Regions from separate parts of the Homo sapiens genome. Here regions 2, 3 and 4 are each linked to region 1. The links are contacts of gene promoters, found by promoter capture Hi-C in human tissues and cell types (Jung and others, 2019). All regions are on one chromosome and are shown on one strand. Each heading gives the region's core, a stretch centred on a gene start or on the middle of the fragment in contact. The rest is flanking DNA. Distances are from core to core; before and after follow the strand shown.

The links. The method cuts DNA at HindIII sites, captures the fragments that hold promoters and counts their contacts. A contact is called where the count stands out against the background at its distance.
Region 2: a contact is called between a fragment that was not itself captured here and the fragment with the promoter of DOCK1 in region 1, in 2 of the 25 tissues and cell types used here (bladder and mesendoderm cells).
Region 3: a contact is called between a fragment that was not itself captured here and the fragment with the promoter of DOCK1 in region 1, in 2 of the 25 tissues and cell types used here (spleen and thymus).
Region 4: a contact is called between a fragment that was not itself captured here and the fragment with the promoter of DOCK1 in region 1, in 4 of the 25 tissues and cell types used here (dorsolateral prefrontal cortex, heart left ventricle, mesendoderm cells and 1 more).

Annotation. Positions count from the first base shown.
Region 1 is chr10:126,903,716-126,907,042 of GRCh38, reverse strand. DOCK1 (dedicator of cytokinesis 1) reads right to left here and starts at 1,615. Exons shown (of 52, transcript NM_001290223.2): 1 at 1,480-1,615. The coding sequence starts at 1,525. It overlaps LOC105378550 (a long non-coding RNA gene), which reads left to right and starts at 1,665. Exons shown (of 2, transcript XR_946449.3): 1 at 1,665-2,483; 2 at 2,601-3,327. It overlaps LOC124900289 (a long non-coding RNA gene), which reads right to left and starts at 1,312. Exons shown (of 2, transcript XR_007062336.1): 1 at 1-1,312. RefSeq lists an enhancer at 1-594. The HindIII fragment of the contact is 5,553 bases long and covers 1-3,327 here.
Region 2 is chr10:126,787,399-126,790,725 of GRCh38, reverse strand. No RefSeq gene overlaps it. Among named protein-coding and RNA genes, the nearest start is that of DOCK1, 120 kb to the left of the region's middle. The HindIII fragment of the contact is 5,265 bases long and covers 1-3,327 here.
Region 3 is chr10:126,806,597-126,809,923 of GRCh38, reverse strand. No RefSeq gene overlaps it. Among named protein-coding and RNA genes, the nearest start is that of DOCK1, 97 kb to the left of the region's middle. The HindIII fragment of the contact is 7,897 bases long and covers 1-3,327 here.
Region 4 is chr10:126,832,806-126,836,132 of GRCh38, reverse strand. No RefSeq gene overlaps it. Among named protein-coding and RNA genes, the nearest start is that of DOCK1, 71 kb to the left of the region's middle. The HindIII fragment of the contact is 4,715 bases long and covers 1-3,327 here.

The sequences.
Region 1 (3,327 bases), core at 366-2,865:
GCAGTCAGATGAGCTCTCCTGCACTTTTGTGAATGTGTCTGGGCCTCAGTTTCCTCATCTGCAAAATGGGGAGATGGGGAGGAAGCTCAGTCATAATGGTCCTGAAGCAAGGAGGCCCCCTATGCCTCCCAGCATGTGGAACAAGCTAAGTGCAGGCCCGGTAGGACCCAGGGCTGTCCCAGGACTGTCCCCGTGACCACTGTCCAGCTGGCTCCGTGGTCAGGGCATACTGTAAGTCATTGACAGCAGAGAGAAGCAACTGTTCACAGAAAGGAGAGCGCTCCGGGGACAAGGGCTGCCAGGGCGCTTCCCAAAAGTCAGAGAGCCAGGATTCGAACCACACCAGCAGAGGGTCGGGCAGGTCCAGCACGGGCCAGGCACAGAATGGGCGCGGGGCTGCTGCTGAGACGGTGCCCTTGGAGGACACAGCCTGGGCTGTGGGAGGCGAGACCACCAAAGGTCTTCCCAGTCGGGTCGAGTGGCCTGGATGAGGCAGGCGGTCAAGGATGTCTGTGGATGGTGGGACGGGGAATAGCAAGCCCGAAAACCAACTGGGAAGATCCCGGACCCGGGAGAGCAGGAGAGTAGCCACGGCCCAGTCCCGACACCAGGCGCGCAGATCACGAAGAGGTGGGCGTCCGCAGGCCTCGGCGACCGGCTGCGGGTCCCCGGGGCGCAAGGATGCGGGTCCCACGCGGACGGGCCCGTCTATTCAGCCGCAAGGGAAAGCCTCCCTCTCAGGAATGCGCACTCGGGTCCGAAATGTAAACTTGCAACCCGACTCCTTCCATCCCCCCTCGGAAGCGACAAAGAGCCGCGGAGCAAAAACAGGCCCCCGCTCTCCCGGAAGGGTCTCCAGGCCTGGGGCCACTGGGGCGCTCGGCCGCTCGCCTTCTCTCCAAGGTCCCACACGGTCCCCAGCGAGACCGCCGAGGGGCAAGGGGCGCTGGCCACCCAGGTCGCGCCCCCTCCTCCCCGCCGGGAAAGGGCGGAATTATCCGCTGGGACCGCGCCGACCTGAGCCCGCCCACCCAGAGCCCGGACGCGGGACGCAAGTTCATCCAAGAAGCAGAAGCCGCCGCGAGACAGTGACCCCTGGGCTTCCCTGACGGGCCCAGCCGCGCAGATAGCAGCGGCCGGGGCCGGGGAGTTGGGGGTAGCCCGGGGGGCTCCACGGCAGAGGTCCAGAGGAGCGGGCGTCGGAGGGGACACCCTAGGGAGGGACGCGCCCGCCCCCATTCCCACCCCACCCCCTCGTGTTCCCGACCCGCATCCCCGGGGCTGGAGCTGACGCCGCCGGGGGCGCGGGGCGGCCGGGGTCGCCGGGCATTGCGAGCGGGGCGGCGGCGCGGGCGCGGGCGGAAGCGCCTCTCCCCGGCCCGGCGGCCGCTCGGGGCGGCGGCAACAGGCGCCCGGCACACCCGCCCCGCCGGAGCCTGGGCTTGGGGCGAGAGGCGCGGCGGCGGCGGCGCTGCTCACCCACGCCGTACTTCTCCTCGCGCTTGGTGGGCACCCAGCGCGTCATGGCGCCGCCGGAGCCGCCGCGGGTCGGGCAGGAAACTCCGCGTCTAGGCCGCCATTTTCCATTCCTTTCGAGCCGCGACAGGATGGGGAGGAAAAAGTTTGCGGCGGAGGCGGCGTCATGTGGGACGGGGCGGGCGGAGCGTCGCGGGCCGGATGGGAAAGGCCGGGAGCGCCGGCGGGAGGCGGGACGGCCGCGGGCTCTGCGCCCGCCCTCGGCGCGGACCCTGGGCCCCGACCCCGCGGTCGCCGGGGCTCCCCTTCCTCTGTCCCAGTGCGCCCAGCCCCGCGCTCCGCACCCGGGCACCCCCGCGGGGTTCTCCTGAGTTCCTGGAGCTCCCGGGGCTGGCGCTCACGCCGTGAGAGGGGTGCGCCCTTAGGGGGGCGGGACGGACGGGGGGTTTCTACGGGAGGTAGGAAACGGGCGGCTTGCAAGGCGCGGGCTTAGGCCGGAGCCTGGTGGTGCGAGGTCCCCAGCTCGGATTTCTCCCTGGTGGAGAGTCCCGGAGCAGAACAAACCAGCAGAGGCTCTGGAAAGGGTCCTCCTGAGCACGTGGCTCATTCATTCATTCGACAAACGTTACCTGAGCGCCTGCCCACTCATTGCCCGAGTGTGCTGGGAGCGCCGCACCAACTGCCTGGTAGGTGGGAGAAGGGACACGTCAGGTAACAAACAGCACAGGTAAGTGCCGGCCACTCAAATGGGGTGGAAAGAGGTGGCACAGCGCTGCCGAGGGAGTGCGTTCCAGACAGGTGACCTCTTGCTTGGGTGCTGAATGAGTGGAGTTTTCCAGAGAGACCAAGAGGAAGCAGCCGCAGAAACCTCAGCCCAGCTGGGCTTGCAGAAGCTAATGCTAGAATAGTTGTGGGACTCAGGATCTGCTGAAGTCGGGGGAAGAGAGAAGTAGGGAAAGGAAAGCCCAGGCCACGCGTGGGGCTCAGGAACGGCATCCTCGCCCGAGGTGGGAGTTCTTCTCAGGCCCTGGTGTTTCCCATGACAGTAAAAGGTGGGGGCTTCAGATTTCTCCAAGGGAAAAGTTAAAGCAACACACACCTATTTATTTTTACTGTAATTTCAGAAAAGAGAGGTTAAAACCAAGACATGGACAAAGCCTCCGAATGAAGGCAGCCCTTTAAATGGAATAAATTTGGTTTCATGGCACATTAATGGGGTGTCTTCTCTCCGAAGACACAGAGACAACTACAGTAGGTCTGGGGGCCGTCAGGGATTGGAGGAACGAAGGTAAGAAAAGGAAGAAGGTAAGAAAAAGAGGTCCCTACCTCTGTGAGGTAGGGACAGTGCTGAACAGCAGGGCTGGGAGAGCCCACAGGGAGGTGGCCAGGATGGCCACAGGGCCTGGGGAGGACCAGGTGGGGCACCATCCTGCGGTAGAGAATGCCCGTCACCTGCCCTAGGGGCCACCCAGAATGCAGATTAAATAAGTATTTGGGAATGGCACAGGAGCTTTTCCATTTTCGTGGGTTAGAGGAAAGCTGCTGCGTTCAAGAGGATAACGTGGGACCTGAGCATTCTGGTAAGTCAACCCCACATTCATGGAAAGCCACGGGCTCTGTTTTACTGATAAGGAACTGAAGTCCCACAGAGGAAGTGGCCAGGCTCACTCACACACAGCATGCACTTGAAGCTTTCTGTGGAAATCAGAAACCTCCGGGGCTCAGGCGCTGTAGTGGTGGCCTGGTGACTCTGACCCCTTGAAGGAGAAGCATCTGTGAAGGTGCTGTCCAGGACAAGTAGGGTGCTCTACGGTAAAGGACATGGTGGCCTGACCTGCTCCAGAGCAGGGA
Region 2 (3,327 bases), core at 215-2,714, 120 kb after region 1:
CAAGTTTTTGACCTATATCGTTTTTCTTCTGCCTGAAAAAAAATCTGTTAATATTTCTTGCAGGACAGGTCTGCTGGTGATGAATTTTCTCAGTTTACATTTATAGGAAAAATCTTTATTTTTTTCACTTTTGAAGGATAATTTCTCAAATATTGAAGTCTAGATTGGCGGATTTATTTTACCCTTTCAACAGAAAATTTTTCATTCTATTCTCTCTTGCTTTTATGGTCTCTGATGTATATCTGCTGTAATTCTTATCCTTGTTCCTCTGTAGGTAAAGTGTGTGTGTTTGGTTTTTTTTTCCTCCCTCAGGCTTATTTCTAGGTTTTCTCTTTGTCTTTGGTTTTCTGTAGTTTGAATATGATATGCCTAGGTATAGTTTTTTGTTATTTATTCTGCTTGATGATCTCTGAGATTTTGAATCTGCGATTGGGTGTCTGTCATTAATTTTGGAAAGTTCTTGGCCATTATTACTTCACATATTTCTTCCACTCCATTTTCTCTTTCTTCCATTTATTCTAATTGTGTCTTTGTTACACCTTTTGAGATTATCCCATTGTTCTCAGATGTTCTGTTTTGTTTTGTTTTGTTCATTCTCTGCATTTCAGTTTGGAAATCTCTATTGACCTATTTTCAAGCTCACTGATTTCTTTCCTTGACCATGTGCAGTCTTCTGAGGGGCCCATCAGAAATATTCTTCTGCCAGGTGTGGTGGCTCACGCCTATAATCCCAGCACTTTGGGAGGCCGAGGTGGGTGGATTACCAGGAGTTCGAGACCAGCCTTGCCAACACAGTGAAACACATTTCTACTAAAAATACAAAAATTAGCTGGGTGTGGTGGCATGTGCCTGTAAGTCCAGCTACTCCAGAGGCTGAGGCATGAGAATCGCTTGAACCCAGGATATGGAAACTGCAGTGAGCTGAGATATCACCACTGCACTTCAACCTGGCTGACAGAGCAAGACTGTGTCTCAAAAAAAGAAAATGAGACTGTCTCAAAAAAAAAAAAAACTTCATTTTTCTAACAGCAATTAAAAAATTTCTTGCATTTCCTTTTGATTTTTCTTAGAATGTCTATCCCTCTGCTTACATTTACCATCAGTTCTTGCATGTTGTCTACTTTTTCCATTAGAGTCCTTCAGAAAATATTTGTAGTTATTTTACATTGCTTATCTGATAATTCAAACATTAGGGGTATACCTGAGTCGGGTTCTGATTCTTTCTTTTTCTTTTTAGACTGTGGGTTTTTTTTTTTCCTTTTGCCTTGCCATATAATTCCCCCTCCCGCCCGGTTTTAACCATTTTTAACTGTATAATTCAATGGCATCAGGTGCATTCACAGTGTTGTACAGCCATCACCGGGCATGAGCAGGGTGGGCTCTCATGGCATCTCCACGTCTAGCATAGCCTGACATATAGTGGTTGTCAACCAATTCTTTTTTTTTTTTTTTTTTTGAGACAGAATTTCCTCTGTCACCCAGGCTAAAGTGCAGAGGTGTGATCTCGGCTCACTACAACCTGCACCTCCTGGGTTCAAGCAATTCTTGTGCCTCAGCCTTCCAAGTAGCTGGGATTACAGATGGCCGCCACCACACCCGGGTAATTTTTGTGTTTTTAGTAGAGATAGGGTTTCACCACGTTGGCCACACTGGTCTCGAACTCCTGACCTCAGGTGATTTGCCTGCCTTGGCCTCCGAAAGTGCTAGGATTATAGGTGTGAGCCACCTCTCCTGGCCCCAACCAAATCTTGAATGAATACATAGAAATAAAGAATATTTGTTTTACTTTTTTTTTTCCCAGGAAGCTGATTATATTAGGGCTTAATGTTTTATGGAAGAGAAGCCATGAACCTGTAACTTAGCCCAGTGCTTCAGTGCTTCTTAAACTTTAGTGAGCATTGGAGTCACTTGGAGAGTTGTTAAGATGGACTCTGCAGGTCTGGCTTGGAACCTGAGATTTCCCATTTCTAACATCCTCTCGGGTGATCTTGAAGCTGTGGGTCCCTGGGTCACACCTGGAGTAGCTCTGACTTAGCTCATTCTCTGACTTTATATTAGATGCCTTAAAAAGCTGGGTGGTTCCCTGGGAAAAGTAGCAGCTCCATGTCCTACTCACTAGGTTTTTCTGGTGCACGGTAGCAGCCATGGCAGCAGGCTAAGGCATTTATTTCCCTTTAGACTATAGCAGTTTGAGTCCCTGGGAAGTTGCTAAAAGCACCAATGTAAGTGGCTTTCATTCCCAAAATCAAGGCCCATGAGTCAGTGTACAACCAGCTCCACCCGGAGTCAGAAGTCTTCCTAAGATTAGGATGGTGTAAAGCCAGGAAAGGCTGCAACTCTTTCTATGCCCCAAAACCAACTGCGAAGAGAAGATTACTCCATGAACTTTGGAGGCCATATTGCTACAAGAAGAAGCTTGGAGTCAATGAATCCTATTTCTGTACTTCCTCTTTCAAAAATCACCCTCAACAGAAATCTTCCAAAAGAAAGCTATGTATTCTAAATGATTAGGCTCAGTGATTTGACACTGGCCTCTTTTCCTGGGACAGAAGGGGACCTGGAGATGGCATCTCATGGTGAAGAGCCTTCTGGGTGAGAAGCTTCTATTTTCCATGTTATTATTTAAATATAATGCAGCTGTTATCACTAGGCAGATGACACCTTTAGATCTTACAGAGCAGGATGTTAGCCAGCAGTTGTAATGCTAATTATCTGTGCCCCTGCCCACACAAATTGGTGCTTTGAAGACCTAAATATTCAGAATGTTGCTGGCAGCTCAGTTAATGTTAACTTTTTTGGTAAGAAACATGGAAATGAGTCCAAAATGTCACATACATTGGCAAGAGGCACTCAGACCAGGAACACAAGTCATGGCATCTAAGGATATCTGAGAAGTTAGACCAGCCTCTCTTCTATGGAACGTGGAGATTCCCTCAAATAAGTACCATGGGAGTTCTGTTCCTGTTACCATTGTAGGAATGCTCTAATAGCTATGATTCTAAGTCTGCTCAAGTGATCTTGTACATGGTGAAAACCCTCACGCCTCAAGGTATTGTCTCCAAAGAAATTGTCTCCAAAGAAACTGTTCCGACTTCGAAGGCATATTTTATTAACCTCAAGATGGAATATGTGAACTGTAGACTTGGGAGCATTTGTTTGACACTTCAGTGAATTCTTATATACAGGTACTGCCACGTGGAAGCAAAGCTAAGTGCTTGCTTAAACTGGACACCAGCGTCCTCCCTGGTGGATGCCATTAACAGAGAGGCTTTGGTAAAAATTCCAGGTATGGGTCTGACTGGAACAACTGGTTTTCTGTGATAAAGG
Region 3 (3,327 bases), core at 579-3,078, 97 kb after region 1:
CTGTAACCTTGAATTCCTAGGCTCAAGTGATCCTCCCTCATCAGCTTTGAAGTAGCTAGGGCTATAGGCACGTGCCACCACACCTGGCTAAGTTTTTAAACATTTTTATTTTTTTGTAGATATGAAAAATGTTGCCCAGGCTGGCCTTGAACTCCCGCCCTCAAGTGATCCTCCCACTTTCGCCTCCCAAAGTGCTGGAATTACAGATGTGAGCCACCACACCTTTGTACAGATTTTTGTGTAACTGTGTGTTTTCTTTTTTTCCTAGGGCAAACACCTGGAAATGGGATTGCTGGGTCATATGGTAAGTCAATGTTTACCATTATAGGAAACTGCCAAACTGTTTTCCAGAGTGGCTATACCATTTTGTGTTCTTATCATCCATGCAGGAAAGATCCAGTTGCTCTGCATCCTTTCCAGTATTTGATGTTGTCAGTATTTTTAAAAATTTTGGTTATTCTGAGAGGTTTATAGCAGTATTTTATCATGATTTAATTTGTATTTCTCTAAGTTACCATCCTTATTTAGTATGTGGTGAAGTACCTATTCAAGTCCTTTTCCCGTTTTTGAAAAAATTGAGGGCCAAGTGTGATGGCTCATGCCTTTAGTTCCAGTACTTTGGAAAGCTGAGGTGGAAGGATCATTTGAGGCCAGGAGTTCAAGACAAGACTGGGCAACATAGTGACACCCTGTCTCTAAAACTATTTTTTTTTAATTGAGTTGTTTGATTTCTTCTTTTTTTCTGATTATTTTTTTCTTCCTACCCAGACAAGAGTTGTTTGATTTCTTATTGTTGAGGTTTGAGAGTTTTGTATATATTCCAGATGCAAATCCTTTGTTGAATATGTGATTTGTAAATGTTTTCTTCCAGTTTATAGCTTGTCTCTATTTTTTTGGCAATACCTTTGGATGACCACAAGTCTTTAATTTTAATAAAGTCCAATTTATCGATGTTTTTTAGTGAATCATGATTTTGGTGTCATTTCAAGAAAGTCTTTACCTAACCTCAGGTCTTGATGATTTTCCTCCTAGGTTTTAAATCTAATGGTTTTATAGTTTTGTATTTTTACATTTAAACCTCTGATTAATTTTGGGTTAACATTTATATAGGTCAAGATTTATTTATTTTGGCATACAGATGGCAGCTGTTCTAACATCATTTGTAGAATCATCTTTATTTTAAAAAATATAACTCATACTCTTGCTTTCTGAATAGAATACAATAGCTCAGCAAAAATACATGAAGTATATAGTTAACAAGTAAGTCTCCCTTTTACTACAGTGCACTAGATTCTTGGTTACCTACCTCCATAGATAACCACTGTTAGCAATTTCTAATGTATTCTTCCATTGAAATTCTATGCATATATAAGCATAGGCATATATATTTCCTTTTTAAATGCATGCACATACAGACACACACACACACACACACACACACACACACACACACAGATAATGGCTTATTGTACCCACAATTTATAGCCTGTCTATTCGCACTTAGTAATATATTGTTTTGGTGAACATTCTATATCAGTTCATGAACTGCCTCATTCTTTTAAATAGCTTGGTAATGTCCCATTGTATGACTGCCATAATTTACTCAACCAGTTGAGGCTGATGCATCCTTAGCCTGTTTGAATTCATTTCCTATTCAGTTGTATTCTTCTAATAATGATCTTATTCACAGGAAGTTCAGGTTCCTGTCAAACTCCAAAGCAATTCGTGACATCCCTCCTGTTTAGCAAGAGTGGCAGAGTACAGCAGGGCTGCTTTTTCTTCAAGGAAGAAGAAAGAGATTTTCTACAAGTGCAGAATTATCTTCAAATAAAATTCAGACCGACATACATCAAGAATGTCTCTTGTAATGAAATTTTCCTACCTGAGAAGAAGGCAGTGACCCTTATAGTATAGCTTAACAATGGGATTAAATGGTCTTATTTCTTTTCAAGAAATGTCCTGTTAAAGAAGTTATTTCTGACAAGCACTTCTCTTTCTGTCTTTCAACAGCAAGTGCTGCTCACATGCCAAGCAGAATTGTAAACTTGGACTTCAAGACCTTCCCAAAGTCACATATTTAGCTGTTATATCAGAGCCTGATGTAAGGAAGAAGTAGAGGATGTGGCCATCTCTTAGGTCTCACTGACCCCATGGCTGTTGGCAAGGCTGTTGGTTAGACATTTGCCAAAATTTGGGAAATATAAAAATGAGGAAGAAACATGACAAATTTGGGCATCTTGTCATTTTACCAGGGCCCACAAGAGCCTGAGACTAATATTTATAATGTGAGAAAAGATGCTGATGTCAAAGGCAGAAGGTGAAATCCTTCTTCGTCATCTGTGAAATGTGGTTACAGGGCAGGAAAGATGATCAGTTCTTCGTAAGTATTATCACCCCATGATGTAACTCTGATGAAACTCTTGTTTCCCTGAATTCTAAGTACTTGGCTCAGAGTGTTTTAAATCTTCAGAGCCAAGAGCTTCATAAAGGTGAATGAATATTGCTTTGTGTTTGGGCAGTGCCATAATTTTAAGTTAAGATCATACAATTCACATGACAGAAGCTTCTGGAAAGAAAATTCCTTGCTTTGATTAAGCTGGCTGGGTCATTAGGACTCCGTTATGCTCATAGCAGTTGGCCATGGTAGAATGAAAAACCATTGTGTTTATGACCTGAGAACTCTTTCAGCTAAATGGAAATGATGATATTAGTGTAGCGACACAATTATGCTATTTCATTCTGGGAGCAAATATGGAATTGGTCCCTAATGTGTTTTAATTGCTCATGCAACTTTATGGAATTTTAAAGTCTGTAGTAGTTATACACATTTCTTCCTGCGCAGATGGGCCTTTCTACCCCTTGCCTGGTTATTTGACTACTGTCTGAGGTACAGTTTCATTAGTCTATTCTGAATTCTTTGTCCTTCTGATAATTTGAAATTTTCTTTTCTGAAGGTTAGTGACAGATTCCAGATGCCAAGGGAATGAATAGCAGGTACCATGTATTATACACGTACTATATGCCAGGCTTTATTCTAGACACAACAAGAAATTAATAATTATATTTGCTAGCATCTATTGAACACTTGCATTGTGCTAAATACTGTTCTAAGTGCTTTACATAATAACATCATCCACTTAATCCTCATGAAAGCCCTATGAGGTAGGGACTGTTATTATCCCCATTTACAGACCAAGAGGACAGTGAAATGCAGCAAATGCCTAAAAATAACTCAGCTAGTTAATGATGGAAAAAAGGAGTGAATCCAGGCAGTCTGTTCTAGAGCTTGGGATGTTAGCCACAGTGACCTACTTCCCAGATAAGTGA
Region 4 (3,327 bases), core at 291-2,790, 71 kb after region 1:
ACAAGGGAACAGCTTTTTCTCTGGGGGAAGGACACTGCATCCATGTGGTGTTGCCTCATCACGTGAGAGAAAACGGCAAGGAGGAAGGACTCACTGCCCACAATCCAGGAGAAAGCCACTGTTGGGAGTGAGTGCCTGGAGAAGAGGCTGTTCCTGAGTCCTGAATGAATTCCACAGCTCAGAGGTGTGTGTGTGTGTGTGTGTGTGTGTGTGTGAGAGAGATATGTCAATATTTTAAGACCAAGAATATCCAGAATTGTTTTTTGGCTCATAGAAAGCATCCAGTAAGTGTTTGTTATTATTTTTATTATATGCTTCTTATCAATAGTAATATTGTTAGGCCCATAATAGATGCCCAACACATATTTGCTAAACATTTGAGCATTAGGCAAAGGAGACTTGTGCTCATTGATATAAATTTGTGACTTAATAATTTACTTTGGAGCAAGAAAGCATTTTACTTAGGGATTTTTCTCTTGGTGAAGTGCTATATTCTAGTAAAGATTTTAATATTCTTCCAGCTTGTCAAATAAGATAGTTATAGGGAATCATGGATGCTTGATTCTCTGCCCTATGATAGGTGAGGCTGACACCTGAAGGAAAATGAGCTCTCGCTCTCTTTTTTTCTCTCCCCCACCCTCTTCTACCATGTGGAAGATTTATAGATAATGAAGCCATTCTCTGATACTGAGAAATTCTGAAGCCCAAGAAAGGGCTTTGCAAGAAACAAAAAGTCTGACTGCCAAGGAACTCCTTTACTGAATGGCAATCCAATATTGTACCCTCAACTTTTACCAGGTATCACTGTGAAAAACATTCCCAGGAAGAAGGTCTTTGTTCCTTCCAAAATGGCCCCAAATACATCATTCATTAGGAAATTCCCAGTCTCCTGTGTGTATCCACAGGACAAATTTCTCTGTGTATAGAGGGTTAAAGTTTCTTTTTCAAAGAACTGTTAAGCTTCCTCTTAACACTTGAAGTGTTAAGTTTACTAAACACTAAAAACTATGTAAACTCTGGCTTTCCCTATTTACTAGGTATTCAGGAAGCTCAGAACTATGGTGAACTGCAATAGTGCCTCACCAATAATTAGCATTAGCATCATATTTCTGACATATTAGCAAGTGATTTTGTGTACGGCTTCTAATTGAATTCTTACAGCATTGCTGCAAGAACAGTGCTATTATTATCCTCATTTTACAGATGGGAAATAAAGGCTTAGATGAATTTATTCACTTGTGTAATATTCCACAGCTGGTGAGAGTTAACATTGACCAAGAATCTGGGAATCATGCTCTCTTCCTTTCTCTGCTTGGCTTCTCTATGCTGGTAGCTCCAGAGATGCTGGGGCAGAGTGGGGTGTCCTTAATAACTAAGAACAGAATATTAAAAATTAAATCCAATCTATCCTGCGCTGTCATAGGAACTCTGCTTGGAAACATTGTTTAAAATATATACTGCTAAAGAACCATGGGGTGGAGAAGAAAGAAAAAAGTAAAAAAAAAAATAAAATATACACTGAAATCTTTCAATTCATCACATATTTACATAAATGCAGCTTCCTGCTAAAGGTTTATAGGTTCCATGTGAAGACTATTTCTGAAAGTTAGCAACTCCGAATAATTCTTACCCCATTAAGAATGTATATTCTGAGATCCAGATTGAATAAATGAGGGAGATCTAAGTGTTTTACTCCATATGCTGGGGGAGATGTGCATTTCATTCAATTTGATAGGTAGTAATAGAGGCCCTGCTACATATGGAGTTAAGCAGGAAACACACAATGACTGATCTATGACCTATGCATGTATCTTACACAATTTAATACAGGTAGCAAGAGAAATACCCAACTCACTACTAGGTGAGGCAGATAATGAGAAGTGCTCTCAGTGGGGAAGGGGAAGGAAGTGAGGGCCACATAGGTGGTCTCTCATTAGAACTCATGGGAACACTTCCAGGTGGGCCTGCTTTATATACAGGATATCTAAGGAACTTACTCAAGCTCACATAGTGAACACAGATCACGAATAGGATTCAAACTCTTTTGGGAAGGTCCTGGCACTTTCCAGGACACCATGAGCCTCCAAATACTTCTGTGGTTTTGTCAAGAAGCTACCAGGTGTTAACACATGTAGAAAAGCAGGTGTGGACACACAGAGAATGGGGGGATTGCAAAATTGTCTCTCTGAAGGGAGTCACATGGTCTCATTTTGAAGGATGATCAGCTTTCCACAGACTCAGTGGTGAGGTAGCATTTTTGCAGACAGAACAGCAGAAGCAAGAGGTTGCGACGGGAAAGCCTGGGATGCTGCTAGGAAGTGATACCTAATAATAGGAAATGAGGCAGAACACGCAGTTCTATGCCCTGGGGTGGAGCCATAAGGACACGTGCACTGGAATCAAACCAGCATGAGTCTGCATCCTGGTTCTGACTTTAGTTAACACTGTGACTGGGTGGTAAGAACCATGACAAGAAAGCATTTATTACAGTACTGCCTAGCACATAGTGAGTGCTCAGTAGCTCAGTAAACAGTAGCCACGTGGTACTAGGCACTTGTCAAGTAAAGGGGAGCATTTCAGGGTTCTGGGAGCAGGAAACGACTTGATGTATGCTACTAGGCTTCTAGGTTTCAGAAACCTATGTGTTCTGACCCTTGAGAGAGCTAACTCTTCTTTTTAAAAAAGCGCTCTTTGTCTTGGTTTGTTTAGTGCTGCTATAACAGAATCCCACAGATGAGTAATTTATTATGAATAGAAATTCATTGGCTTATGGTTCTCAAGGCTGGGAAGTACAAGTTCAAGGGGCTAGCATCTGGTGAGTGTCTTCTAGCTGCCTCACAGCATGGCAGAAGGGCAAAGAGAGGGCAAAAGACAAAGAAGGGGCCAGACTCATCCTTTTATAAGGAACCCACTGCTGCAGTTACAACATTAATCCATTCACTAGGGCAGTGTCCCCATAACCCAAACATTAGGACCTATCTCCCCACATGTTGGGGATCAAGTTTCATTAGGACCTACCTCCCCACACATTGGGGATCAATTTTCCAACACATGAACTTTGGGGAACACATTCAAACTATAGCACTATTAGTCTTTTTTTTCTTATAAAGCTTCATTCTTGTTCACAATCATTGAGAGATGGCCATAGCACAGTGAAAAAATGGTAAATGATGTCTAATTTTTTTTGTGATTGTTGACTATCTCCAAATTGGTGTTTTGTCAACATTTCAAAATAAAAAGCAGGCAGAAATTGCTGAGTTAAAAAAATGGTTTTGAATATTAGCTTATCTAAAGAGGGCTTACATGTTAGAATCATGATGGTTGCAG